3 separate regions of the Homo sapiens genome follow, and regions 1 and 2 are each linked to region 3. The links are contacts of gene promoters, found by promoter capture Hi-C in blood cells and fetal thymus (Javierre and others, 2016). All regions are on one chromosome and are shown on one strand. Each heading gives the region's core, a stretch centred on a gene start or on the middle of the fragment in contact. The rest is flanking DNA. Distances are from core to core; before and after follow the strand shown.

Region 1 (4,129 bases), core at 223-2,722, 360 kb before region 3:
TCCCACCCAGCCAGCCAAACAGTGGAGCCTTGAGTCTGGGTGAGCGGGTACCCAGTAGCGGGACAGGGAGGCATGTGGATCAGAGCACCCCACACACACCTGCCTCCATCCGAGCAGAAGAGATGAATTTGTCCAGCTGGCACCGCAGGAAGTCCCTCTCTTCCTCCAGGTCCTCGATGCGCTTCTGCAGCCAGGAGTTCCTCTCCAGAGCCATGTGCAGCTGGGTCTTGACGCTGTTCATCAGAGCCAGGGCGGAGGACGCAGCCTCCGGAGGCTCTAGGGACACAGCGAGGGTGGGGGGACCAGGTCACACCCTGGGACTCAGGGCTTGGCTTCCCAGCTGACTCCAGTCCCTCCACACCCCCTCAGCTCACCCTCGAAGTTTCTCCGAGAGGGGCTCAGACTGTAAAAGATCTGTGGGTCTAGGTGGGGTGCCTCATCGAAGGGAATGGAGATCTCGAAGGTCTCATCGTCCTTCACTGGAGAGGAGAGGCCCCGGGTTACCCCAGAGAATTCCCCGGGCCTCTCAGGCCACCCCCCAACCACGGCAGCCTGGAGCCGACCGCACTGGGACCCAGGGTAGGGAAGGGGACCCAGCTTCCTCACTTGTCCGCCTCCGACTGCTCCGGTCATTCATGGCGCGGCTTCCTACGGACCCCAGCAGCCGAGGGCCTCAGGGGCACTGGACAGAAACGGCAGCCACAAATGGAGAGACGCAGATGGACTGGAGGGTCCATCCTGGGGGAGGTGAAGTGAGACAGGAGGGACCTTCTGGCCTGGACCCCTGGTCTGAGGGAGGAGGGAGCCTGGACCCCAGGACTGAGGCAAAACGCGCCTGGGCTTCAAACTCCTGGGCTCCTGGAGTCAGGGGCAGGGGGCCCAGCCGCCTAGGTCCTGGGGGAGAAGTGAGCTGGGGACGTGGGCTCCTGGGTATCGAAGGAAAAGGAAGCTGAAGCCCTAAATTGCTGGGTGCCCCAAGGGGTCGCCTGACCAGGGACACCTAGCCTGAAGGGGAAGGACCCTCTCTCATCGCGGGCCACTGCCAGGCCTAAGGAAGAGGCAGGTGCAGGGGGAAACTGCCCCAACTTCCCAGGGTAGGAGGAGGTCCAGCCCGTGCGCGCTGCCTCCTCTACCTTCGGGGCCCCCACACCCCTCCCCCGCACTCGCGTGGGCGGGCGGACCGTCCCCCGGTGGTGGGGGCTGGGCGCGTGCGCAGTACGGGGAAAGGTCACGCGTGGGGGTGCGCCCCCCCCGCCCCCGCCCTTTGTCCCGCGGGTGGGAGGGGGAGCGGTCGTGGAACGATTCCAGCGGGAACATGCACTAGGGCGGGGGTGCAAACGCGGCCACCATCCCCCGCCCGCGGGTGCCCGGGGTCCGAGGGGCCGAGGCCCCCCGCGCTCACCCACCCGCTCGCGGAATCCGGCTCGGGGACCGACGGCGGCGGCGCCCATGCCCGGCGCCGGGGAGCGTCTGCAAAGTGTCACGGGGAGCCGAGGGAAGCGCCCACCCACCCGCGAACAGGCGGGGCGGCAGGGGAGCGTGTCGTGGAACTGAGCGACGGAACGGGCAGGGACGCGGGGACTCGCCCAGTCGGGCCAGGCTAGCGCCCCTCGTTGAAGAGTCCCCGGGTCCAGGTGAGGCCCGCCGTTTGCGGCAGAAGCAGAGGGTCTGCACTTGCGCGATAGCCCCTTACAGCACTCCCCCGCCCTCCCCGAAGCTCAGGCAGGGAACATCACGAAATTCCCATCCTGGAGAGCTGGCGAGTCTCCGGGGGTCCCCGGATTGGGTGGCGGTGTGCCCAATGGGCCCAGAAGGCAGGAGAGTGTTTGAGACACCGAGAAAGTTGGAGCGAAAGGAGAATCTACTTTTAACGCTCTCTCAGGAACTAGCCAGCGCGGACCCCTCAGAGCTCCCCTACCTCCTACAGCCAGACCCCAAGGTTCTCAGGGATGTGGGGGCCAAAATCGGGGGAGTTACCCCTCTCCCGGAAAATGAGGGCCAGGAACACGCCACCCCCATCCCCATGTTGGTAATTAAGAGCTGGCTTTGGAGCAAAGCTAGATTCCAGTCCTGACTGTTCCTGCTCCTCCCCAGCCTGTTAACTCACCTGCAAAATGGGGAAATTACAAGCCCTTCTAAATTTATTGTGAGGATGCAGTGATGCGACACACAGAAGCTCAGCCCAGCACCTGGCCATCGTCAGGGCTGAAGAGAGGAGCGCTGCTGGTATTATTTGAGGTCAGATGGTGGGGTATGATGGCAGCCTCTGGGAGGCTCTTTCCCACTCTGGGGAGTATGAACGGAAGATTTGTTCTTCCTCCCAAAAAAACAGGTCGGAAGAGCAAATGAGGCCTAGCACAGTGCCTGGCACAAAATAGGCAAGAAAAATGAATGAATAAGCAGATGTTTATTAAGCTTCAGGCTCAGCTCCACCTGCCTCTCCTGTTCACCAGAAGCATCCAAGCTCTGGACTGTGGCCAGCCCTTATAAGAGCAAGGTCTTAACCCGATGGAGGGAGAATCTAAATGTCTGCACCGCCTGCAAAGCTGTGACCATGATCCTCCCCTCCCCACTTTACAGATTAACTGCAGCCTGGTCCAAAAATTCCAGGGGGAGCCATCTGCCCTAGATTGGTCTTTTCCAAACTACAGGTTCATGGGTGGAGAATTCAATAGAATAGGATGAAATCAGCAGTTTAAAAAAATATTTAGCCGGGCGTGGTGGTGCACACCTGTAATCCCAGCTACTCAGGAGGCTGAGGCAGGAGAATCGCTTAAACCGGGGAGGTGGAGGTTGCAGTGAGCCGAGATCGCACCACGCTCCAGCCTGGGCGACACAGCGAGACTCCGTCTCAAATAGTAATAATAATAGTTGATGGAAAAAAAAATGCACAAACTAAAGCTAACTATGGTAAAGAAATTTTTGTGGGCCGGGCGCAGTGGCTCACGCCTGTAATCCCAACACTTTGGGAGGCAGAGGGGGGCGGATCACGAGGTCAGGAGATCGAGACCATCCTGGCTAACACAGTGAAACCCTGTCTCTACTAAAAATACAAAAAATTAGACAGGCATGGTGGCGGGCGCCTGTAGTCCCACCTACTCAGGAGGCTGAGGCAGGAGAATGGCATGAACTCGGGAGGCGGAGCTTGCAGTGAGCCGAGATTGCGCCACTGCACTCCAGCCTGGGCGACAGAGCAAGACTCCGTCTCAAAAGAAAAAAAAAAAAAAAACTTTTGTTTCGAGGCCTAGTGCCCTGAGGGAGGCCGAGGTGTGTGGATCACCTCAGGTCAGGAGTTCGAGACCAGCCTGACAAACACGGTGAAACCCATCTCTACTAAAGGTACAAAATTAGCTGGGCATGGTGGCACACGCTTGTAACCCCAACTACTTGGGAGGCTGAAGCAGGAGAATCGCTTGAACCCAGGAGGTGAAGGTTGCAGTGAGCTGAGATCACGCCATTACACTCCAGCCTGGGTGACAAGAGCGAAACTCCGTCTAAAAAAAAAGAGGCCAGGCGCTGTGGCTCACACCTGGAATCCCAGCACTTTGGGAGGCCGAGGCAGGTGAATCACCTGAGGTTGGGAGTTCAAGAACAGCCTGACCAACATGGAGAAACCCCGTCTCTACTAAAAATACAAAATTAGCTGGGCATGGTGGCACACGCTTGTAATCCCAGCTACTAGGGAGGCTGAGGCAGGAGAATCGCTTGAACCCAGGAGGCATTGCGGTGATCCGAGATTGTGCCATTGGACTCCAGCCTGGGCAAAAAGAGTGAAACTCCGTCTCAAAAAAAAAAAAAGGAAACTTGGTTCACGTGTATTTTGCTTATCTGTATACTCTATTGCCATATAAAATGTGTTTGTAACAGGAGATTGTGGTTTTAAAATTGTTTCAGTTAAAAACATTCTTCCCAGATGACCCAGGTCTTCAGGAGCTGAGGAGGGGATAACCCCAAGGCAGGCCAACCTTCCCATTCCCCAGCCAGGCAAGCTGAGGTCTCCCTGCTAGACGGCCACCAAAGAGGGTCTGAGATGCTGTCTCTAAAAACAAACCTCGAGTGCTCAGAGTGGGAAACGTGTTTATTGTTTGATCAGTCTCAGGCCTGGTTGGGGGGTGGAAGGCAGGACTGG
Region 2 (4,410 bases), core at 458-2,957, 320 kb before region 3:
GAGGCCATCCTGAACCACAGCCCCCCAGGTCTATCTCTTTATCCCGTGATATTCTGAACACGCACATATACTCTTGGTTTTTGTTTTTATTTTTTTTCACTGCAGCCTCGAACTCCTGGGCTCAAGCAGCCCTCCCACCTCAGCCTCCTGAATAGCTGGGGACTACAGGTGCCCACCAACCACACCCAGCTTTTTTTTTTTTTTTTTTTTTTTCCTGTAAAGACAGGGTCTCACTATGTTGCCGAGGTTGGTCTTGAACTCCTGGCCTCCAGCGATCCTCCCACTTTGGCCTTCCCAACTGCTGGGATTACAGGCATGAGCCACCTCGCCTGGCCTGTATTTTGTCTTTTAATCATCTGCCCCCTCAACTAGCATATCCACTCCATGAGGACAGGGATTCTTGTCTATTTTGTTCTCTGTTGTACCCCCAATGTAAAGTAGGTGCTCATTAAACAGTTGTTCAACCAGTGTTTACGAATGAACGTATGAATGAATGAAGAACATTCTGGGCTCGGTAGAGCTGACAAAGGCTAGATAATTTATCCCAGTGCCCTCACCTCCAAAGCCTTTTGAGACCAAAGCTTCCTTCCTCTTGTTCTTGCCTTCAAATCTTCCACTCCACCCTCACCGGCCTCCCCTGCTGCTCCTCCACTCACCGTGCTCACCGCCACTTCAGGGCCTTTGCACTTGTTGTTCTTGCTGCCTGCTCACCCAGATCTTTGCATGGCTAAGCTGCCACTTGTAATTCAGCTTTCACCTCTAAAGTAGTTCATCAGGCTCTCAGAGAACCCACAAAACCCCGTGTATCTTTGTCGACTCGTGTCTGATCAACTAGACTGTGAGACCCCGCACAGTGAGAACACTGTGTGTATCGACCCCCTTCGTGGCTGTATATTATACCCTTCAGCTAGAATAGTGAATATGCGTTCAACGCAGAAGGAATGCCTACGAGAAAAGAAGTCACACCCTAGTGAAGTCCAGGGTCTTCCCTAGGGAGTCCAGGACGATAGCCTGAGAGCTGGGTGAGAAGCTGCAGGTCAGGGCAACAGTTGTTCACGCCATAGGAAGAGGATGAGGCACATTCTGGGAAGGAAGGCTTCACCGCCTCACTGCGGGACACTGTTCTGTGGCAGAAGTAATGAAGACGGGCTGACCGCGATGAGGGTGGGGTGAGAGGAGGTACGGGAGTATGTCATGGGAGCCTGGAGCTAAGCAGGCGGATATTTCTACCTGAGGCGGGAGAGGATGTGAGTGTGAAGGAACTCTAGAGGGAGCTGTGCCGCTGCGATGGGGGGGTGGCTTTGAAAGGGGCATTCTTAAGGGGAATCACTGGAGGACCTGCAGAAGGGAAAAAGGCATTCTTGGTGCTGACCAGAATAGAAAGTATTTTCACACCCACGAAGGGGCGTTCTGCTGGGGAGGGAGGTGGTCAGGGCCATTGGGGGCTGTTGCTGTATGGACAGAGATAACGGGGGACAGTTCTGCTGCAAGGCACTAAGGAAACACTCTGGGGAGAATTATATAGAGGATACTAATAAGAGGGTTCACGAGCAGCTGCCCTACATGGGGAGGGGCAATGCTGATGGCATCTGGAGGCTGACCTGGAGGAAGCAATGACGGGGAGCGCTATGTGGAGGGGATCCTACGAGGAGGTATCATTTGGGGGCCCTGGCAGCCGTTTAGGGGATCGCCACGAATGAAAGCGCTTTGGCAGCCATCCTAGCTGGGGGCGTTCATGGGGGAGCTATCTGCAGTGATCCTACCGGGGAGCAGTGATTGGGGGTCCCTTGGCAAGGGCCCGGCGGGAGCTGCACTGACTTGCTAGGGGTTGGGGGACGTTCTGGGGACCACAGCGGGCCAGGGCGGGGCCCCCCGCCCCCGCTGCACCCGGGCCCCCGGGCCACGCACCCCGTCACTCACCGGCGCCGGGGTCTCCGCCGGGAGGAGGCCGAGGAGGCGGAGGAGGCGCCGCCGCTCCGGGGAGACCCGAGGGCCCGACCGGAAGTGCCGCCCCCTCCCCCCTCCCCGGCAGCCCCGCACCGCCCGCCTGCCCGCCCGCCCGGAAGCGGAAGTCGCGCCCGTTCCCGAGGCGCCGGCGTGGAGGATCGGAAAGAGGAGGCGGTGGCGGGGACCAGGAGGGGGGAAATGCGCTTGCGCACTGACTCGGGGACGCGAGCAGTGAAAGCCCGGGCCGATTCCGGTGGGCGAACTGAGCCAGGTGCGCCTGCGCTTTGAATGCCCGCCTCTTCTACGGGAACCCCGCGACACGCTCTGGGCGTCCGGTTAAGCCACACCTCCGGCTCGGGTCTCACACTGAAGCCCCGCCCCCTGGCCCTGAACCACGCCCATCTCACAGCGTGATTATAAGCCCCCTACTGCCTCAAAGTCTGTCTTCGTCCCCTCGCCCTCATGCAGTTTCTCCTGTTCTTCCCCCTCTCCAAGCTCCCACTCTCTGGAACTTCACCCCTCCCTAGGCCCCGCCCCCTCCATCCAAGCCCCGCCCCTTCACCCCATAGCATTTAAGTTGCACCTCGTGACTTTTGAGTGCCTCCCACCTCTAAAGCATTCTTTTAAATCGGTGGTTGTCAAGGATAGTTGGGAGGCCAGCAGCATCCGGCTGCCTGCTCAGACCATGCGGAATAGAAGCCCTGGGGTTGGGGGTCTAGGGATCCGTGTTTTGAAATACTCTGATTCTGCTGCATGCTGGTCAAGAGCCATGGATTTACCACACTTGACACTGCCCGCTCATATAATCGCTATAATCCCGGCTCCCAACTCAGCCCCATCCCAAACAGCCAAACCCAGACCCATTCAGCCCCTCCTGCTAAGCTTCCACTCTCCCAGGAACTTCCCTTAGATTAAGTACTTCCTTCTCTCCCCATCGCCTCCATAGCAGTCGTGCGCCCCCATCAGCACCTTCTAAGTCCCACCTCCAATACCCTGTTCCCTCAGAGTTTCTCCTTTAAGCCCCGGCCCCCGGCCCTCGGCCCTGAACCACGCCCACCTCAGAGCTGAATTATTATAAGCTCCGCCCCTCACCTTAAAATCCGTTCTCTTGGCCTGGCGTGGTGGCTCACGCCTGTAATCCCAGCACTTTGGGAGGCCAAGGCAGGCGGATTGCTTGAGCACAGGAGTTCAAGACCAGCCTGGGCAATATGGCAAAACCCCGTCTCTACAAAAAAAAAAAATACAAAAATTAGGCTGGACGCGGTGGCTCACGCCTGTAATCCCAGCACTTTGGGAGGCCGAGGCGGGTGGATCACGAGGTCAGGAGGTCAAGACCAGCCTGGCCAAGATGGTGAAACCCCGTCTCTACTAAAATTACAAAAATTAGCCAGGCGTGGTGGCGGGCGCCTGTAATTCCAGCTACTCGGGAGGCTGAGGGAGAGAACTGCTTGAACCCGGGAGGCAGAGGTTGCAGTGAGCCAGATTGCCCCACTGCACTCCAGCCTGGACGACAGCAAGACTCCGTCTCAAAAAAAAAAAATTAGCTAAATATGCTGGCGCCCGTCTGTAGTCTCAGCTACTCCGGAGGCTGAAGCAGGAGGGTCGCTTGAGCCTGGCAGGTCGAGGCTGCAGTGAGCGGTGATAGGGCCACTGCACTCCAGCCTGGATGACAGAGCGAGACCCTGTCTCAAAAAAAAAATTATCCGTCCTCCTTGCCCCACTCTCACGCAGTTCCTCCTGTTCTTCCCCAGCTCCAAGCCCCTACTCTCTATTAGATCAACTCTATCCATCCTCTTTAAACCGCTCTCACTTTCTGCGGACCAACCCCTAAACCTCTTTAAGCCCCACCCAACTCTAACCCTCTTCTAAGCCCCCGCCCCAGGTCCCAGCCTAACTGCCCCGCAATCTCAGCCCCACCCCTCGCTCCTTAGCCCCGCCCCAATCCACACCCCTTATCTCTAAACCTTACCCAGACCGTCCTGCTCATACCTTTGTCTTAATTTTTCCTTCCAAACAGTAGGTCCTCAGGACAAGGAGGTGGGGCAAAGTGGCTGCAGAATTTCTGGGAATTGGCTAGGAGAGAGGCGGTCGGACCTACAGTCAGGTCTGCATGGAAGGTTCAATGTTTTTAGTTAGATTGGATGTGTACTGGGAATACAGCTGACCCTTGAACAACAGGGGTTTGAACTGCAGGTCCATTGAGAGGCGGACGTTTTTTCACCCAAACACCGGTGGAACATACAGTATACGAAGGGCGGATTTTCCTACATCCGCGGGTTCCGCAGGGCCCACTGCTGGACTTGTGTATGCCCAGATCTTGGTATCTGCGAGGTTCGTGGAACCAATTCCCCGCGGACTCCGAGGGACCCATGGACTTTGGGGTCTGATGGAGATGGGGAAGGGGCCAAGGTTCCCCCCAAAACCATTCTTTGGCGAGCACCACGCTCATGAGGCACAGGAAGT
Region 3 (4,210 bases), core at 940-3,439:
CTCCTCCCTCAGACCCAGGAATCCAGCCCCCCCAGCCCCTTCCTCCCTCAGACCCAGCACTCCAGGCCCCCAGCCCCTCCTCCCTCAGACCCAGCACTCCAGGCCCCCAGCCCCTCCTCCCTCAGACCCAGCACTCCAGACCCCCAGCCCCTCCTCCCTTAGACTCAGCACTCCAGACCCCCAGTTCCTCCTCCCTCAGACCCAGCACTCCAGGCCCAGCCCCTCCTCCCTCAGACCCAGTCCAGGTCTGACCCCTTCTTCTCCTGTAACTCAGGAATTCAGGTCAGCAACACCTTCACACTCTTACCACTCAGGATCTGGGACTTTGACCCTCTCCTTTTCCCTAGGGTCTCAGCTCCCAGTTACGGCCCAGTCGGTCCCCACTCCTGCCAGCTCTGGCCCTGAGCTTCATAGAGACTCTGGGCGTTCAGCTCCCATGTCACCTCCACCCACCATCCATCCGGCAGGAAGGAGGCCGCGGCCGGTGGCCAGCGTTCAGCAACAGCAGAGGATGAACGCCCTTTCCACAGCCGCTCCAGGAGACGCGCCTGCTGCAGCCCACCTTCCCACCCTCCATCCTGTTTCCCACTCTGAGCCAGCATGCCAGAGAAGGGGAGAATGTCTTAGGCCCCACGGCCCCTGTCACCCCAACCTGCTGCCTGGAGAACTGGAGGCCAGAGGACAGTGGGGAGGGAAGAGGTTTCCCAGGATGGATGCACTGCACCCCGGTCTGCAGCTGTACTGCAGCAAGAACCTCAGGTCCCAGCCCGGCCCCACTCTGCAGGCCGCCTCCATCCCCTCCCTGGCCCTGGAGCCCCTCCAGCCTCTGCCCCTATGGGGACTGGAGCACTGGGGCCCCAAACTCCCTGTCCCAACACTCAAGGTTCCGACCGCCCTCCTCCCTCAGACTCAGGAGTCCAGGCCCCCAGCCCCTCCTCCTTCAGACCCAGGAGTTCAGCACCCCTGCCCCTCCTCCCTCAGACCCAGGAGTCCAGACCCCAGACCCTCTTCCTTCATACTCAGGAGTCCAGGCCCCCAGGCCCTCCTCCCTCAGACCTGAAAGTCCAGGACCGCAGTCCCTCCTCCCTCAAACCCAAAAGTCCAGGACCCCAGTCCCCTCCTCCCTCAGACCCAGAAGTCCAGACCCCCAGCCCCTCCTCCCTCAGACCCTGGAGTCCAGGCCCCCAAGCCCTTCTCCTTCAGACCCAGGAGTGCAGGCCACCAGCCTCTCCTCCCTCAGACTCCGGAGTCCAAGCACAGCCCCTCCTCCCTGAAACCCAGGAGTCCAGACCCCCAGGCCCTCCTCCCTGAAACCCAGGAGTCCAGGCCCCCAGGCCCTCCTCCCTCAGACCTAGGAGTCCAGTGCCCAGCCCCTCCTCCCTCAGACCCAGGAGTCCAGGCCCCCAGCCCCTCTCCTCCAGGACCTGAGTCTGCGCCCCCCACCCCCTCCATCCAGGGACCCAGGAGTCTGAATCCCAAGTCCCTTCTCTATGAGGGGCCCAGGGGTCTGGGCAGCCAGCCCCTGCCATTTGAATACCCTGAGTCCCGCCTCTGCCGCCACCTCCACCCTGCCCCCCGCCCCAGGTGTCCCCTTCTGCTAGGCTCACCTGTCTGTCCTTTGCCCAGCGTCTTCTCCAGCCGATAGGGGCCCACATATTGGGCGTGCTGGGGTGGGTGGGGGTGGGGGTGGGGGAGGTGGTAGGCGGGAGAGCCCCCACCTCCCTCCTTGGCCCCGGACGACATGGTGCCCTTGGTCCCGGCCCGACCGGTCCCCCGGCCGCCCCCCCTGCGGCCGTCGCCCCGTCTCTCCGGTGGGGGCCGGCGACCGCTCCGTCCCGGCCCCCCCGGCTGCCCCCCACCTCTCCGGGGGTCCCCAGGGGGCTGGGCTGGCCCCCCCCAGTCGGCGGGCCGCGGAGCTGGGGGAGGGGGGGCTGGCCCGGGGGGGTCAGGCCCCGGGAGTCAGCATGGCCCAGGGGGGCTGCGGGGCCCCCCCTCCCCAGCCCGTTTCTGGCCGGCCCCCCGCTTCCTGCGCCTCCCCCCGCCGGGGGGGTCTGAGGTGCGGGCCGGCGGATGCTGCAGGCCGAGGTCCCCCCCGCCCCCCCACGCGCCCTCTCTCCTCCGCCTCCTCCTCCTCTCCGCCTCCCCCCGCCACCTCGTCCTTTCTCTCCGGCACGCTGACATCACCATCCGGGGACTCCGGGCCCTTCCCCAAAGTTAACCCTTTCGGAGGGGGGAGGGGGAGCGAGGGGGGGCAGGGGGCGGGCCTCCAGCTGGAGGGATGGAGAGGAGGTGGGAGGATGCAGGAGAGAGGATGGAGGGAAGGATGGAGAGAGAGAGAGAGGACCCAACAGATGGGGCAGAGATGGAGATACACAAAGAGAGATGCTGGCTGACACAGAGACGGGAGACAGGCAGAGACGCCAGAGGGATGGAGACCACCAGAGACAGGCTGAGGCAGAGAGGGAGGAAGGGCAGAGATGGACAGGGACAGAAGAGAAGGAAGGAATGGCAAGCCGGGAAAACAGACAGGGAGAGGGAGAGAAAGCTGCTGGAAGCCGACAGAGGGATGGAGAGAGTCAGAGATTCAGAGAGACAGAGAGAGGAAGACCAACCAGAGAGGTGGGGGAGAGGGGGCGCAGATGGAGCTGTAGAGAGGGCCGGGGGTACACACAGGTGGAGGGACACGTGCTGGGGAGAGGTGGGGACATATGGAGGGAGACAGAGACAGAGAGGGGAAAGAATTCTTGGAGTTGCTGACCCAAAATTCATGTCTGTTTCCCCAGCCCCCTAAGGCCACCCATTCAGGGTAAGGGTAAGTCTGTGTCCCCACCAATGTCAAGGCCCCATATCTACCCACAGCCCAGAGTGATTTTGGATTCTCTTTACAGAGAAGCTTCCAGAACCCCCTCAGTTTCCCTGTGTTATGTTTTTAGACCCCCATATATTCTCTGTGCTCGTCATAGGGTCCTTTATATCTTCATGTGGACCCCAGTACAGCCCATACATCCCCACTGTAGCAGGTCCACAAGCATGTGCTCTGCCTGTGAGTAACCCGCCTGCCCCCATTAGCTTTCCGCATAAACCATAGATCCCTCTATGTCATGTACCCGCAAGTGTTAGACACCCATTTAATTCTCAAGTCCCCTGTAAAGCACACCCAGGGCTGGGCAAGGTGGCTCATGCCTGTAATCCCAATACTTTGGGAGACAGAGGTGGGAAGATCAGCCTGGGCAACACAGTGAGACCCCATCCCTACAAAAATTTTTTTAAAAATTAGCCGGGCATGGTGGCATGTGCCTGTAGTCCCAGCTACTTGGGAGGCTGAGGCTTGAGTCAGTGAGTTCTAGGCTGCAGTGAGCTACGTTTGCACCACTGCACTCCAGCCTGAGCAACAGAGTGAGGCCCTGTCTCTAACAAAAATAAAATAAAATAAAGTGCACACAGGAGCCTATTGGCTCCTGTGAGATTTCCCAGTCCCCCATTCAACACCTTGAGTCCACACATCTTTAATGAGTGCCAAATCTCAGCCAGGCACTGTTCCTGTTGGTAAGAACGTGGCAGTGACCTAAATCAGCAAAAAGGCCTGTCCTGTGGAGCTTCCATGCTGGTGGATGAAACAGATGATCAGCAAGGTCAATAGGCAAAATGTATGGTGTGTTAGATAATCATGTCCGTGCTGAGGAGGTGACTACAGCAGGGAAGGGGGTTAAGAGGGGCCTGTTGAGCAGGGTACAATTTTAGGCGTCCGGCTTTTTTTGTATTTTTAGTAGAGATGGAGTTTCACCCTGTTAGCCAGGCTGGTTCTGTAGCCTTTTTTTTTTTTTTTTTTTTTTTTTTTTTTTTTTTTTGAGACGGAATCTTGCTCTGTCTCCCAGGCTGGAGTGCAGTGGCACAATCTCAGCTCACTACAACCTCCACATCCTGGGTTCAAGCGATTCTCCTGCCTCAGCCTCCCGAGTAGCTGGGATTATAGGCACCCGCCACCATGCCTGGCTAATTTTTGTATTTTTAGTAGAGATGGGGTTTCACCATGTTGGTCAGGCTGGTCTCAAACTCCTGACCTTGTGATTTGCCCACCTCAGCTTCCCAAAGTGCTGGGATTACAGGCGTGAGCTACCACACCTGGCCTGGTTCTGTAACTATTGAGTCCCTTTTTGCTCTCAAATGTCTTGCTATAGATGAAAAATTATATGATCACCCTCTTTTTTTT

The links. Contacts are between HindIII fragments. The CHiCAGO score rates a contact against its expected background, and 5 or more counts as called.
Region 1: a contact is called between the fragment with the promoter of CCDC106 here and the fragment with the promoter of BRSK1 in region 3, in 9 of 17 cell types (non-activated CD4 T cells, naive CD8 T cells, naive CD4 T cells and 6 more). The highest score is 10.8, in non-activated CD4 T cells.
Region 2: a contact is called between a fragment that was not itself captured here and the fragment with the promoter of BRSK1 in region 3, in 15 of 17 cell types (erythroblasts, activated CD4 T cells, fetal thymus and 12 more). The highest score is 16.6, in erythroblasts.

The regions. Positions count from the first base shown.
Region 1 is chr19:55,645,555-55,649,683 of GRCh38, reverse strand. It overlaps CCDC106 (coiled-coil domain containing 106), which reads right to left and starts at 1,472. Exons shown (of 5, transcript NM_001370470.1): 1 at 607-1,472; 2 at 375-479; 3 at 100-276. The coding sequence starts at 637. ZNF581 (zinc finger protein 581) reads right to left here. Exons shown (of 2, transcript NM_016535.4): 2 at 4,061-4,129. RefSeq lists an enhancer at 7-56 and silencers at 1,117-1,246, 1,277-1,396. The HindIII fragment of the contact is 17,145 bases long and covers 1-2,417 here.
Region 2 is chr19:55,603,243-55,607,652 of GRCh38, reverse strand. It overlaps ZNF865 (zinc finger protein 865), which reads right to left and starts at 2,006. Exons shown (of 2, transcript NM_001195605.2): 1 at 1,921-2,006. RefSeq lists a silencer at 1,738-2,237 and enhancers at 2,281-2,832, 2,833-3,384. The HindIII fragment of the contact is 2,248 bases long and covers 584-2,831 here.
Region 3 is chr19:55,281,976-55,286,185 of GRCh38, reverse strand. BRSK1 (BR serine/threonine kinase 1) reads right to left here and starts at 2,189. Exons shown (of 19, transcript NM_032430.2): 1 at 1,608-2,189. The coding sequence starts at 1,743. The HindIII fragment of the contact is 8,428 bases long and covers 1-2,895 here.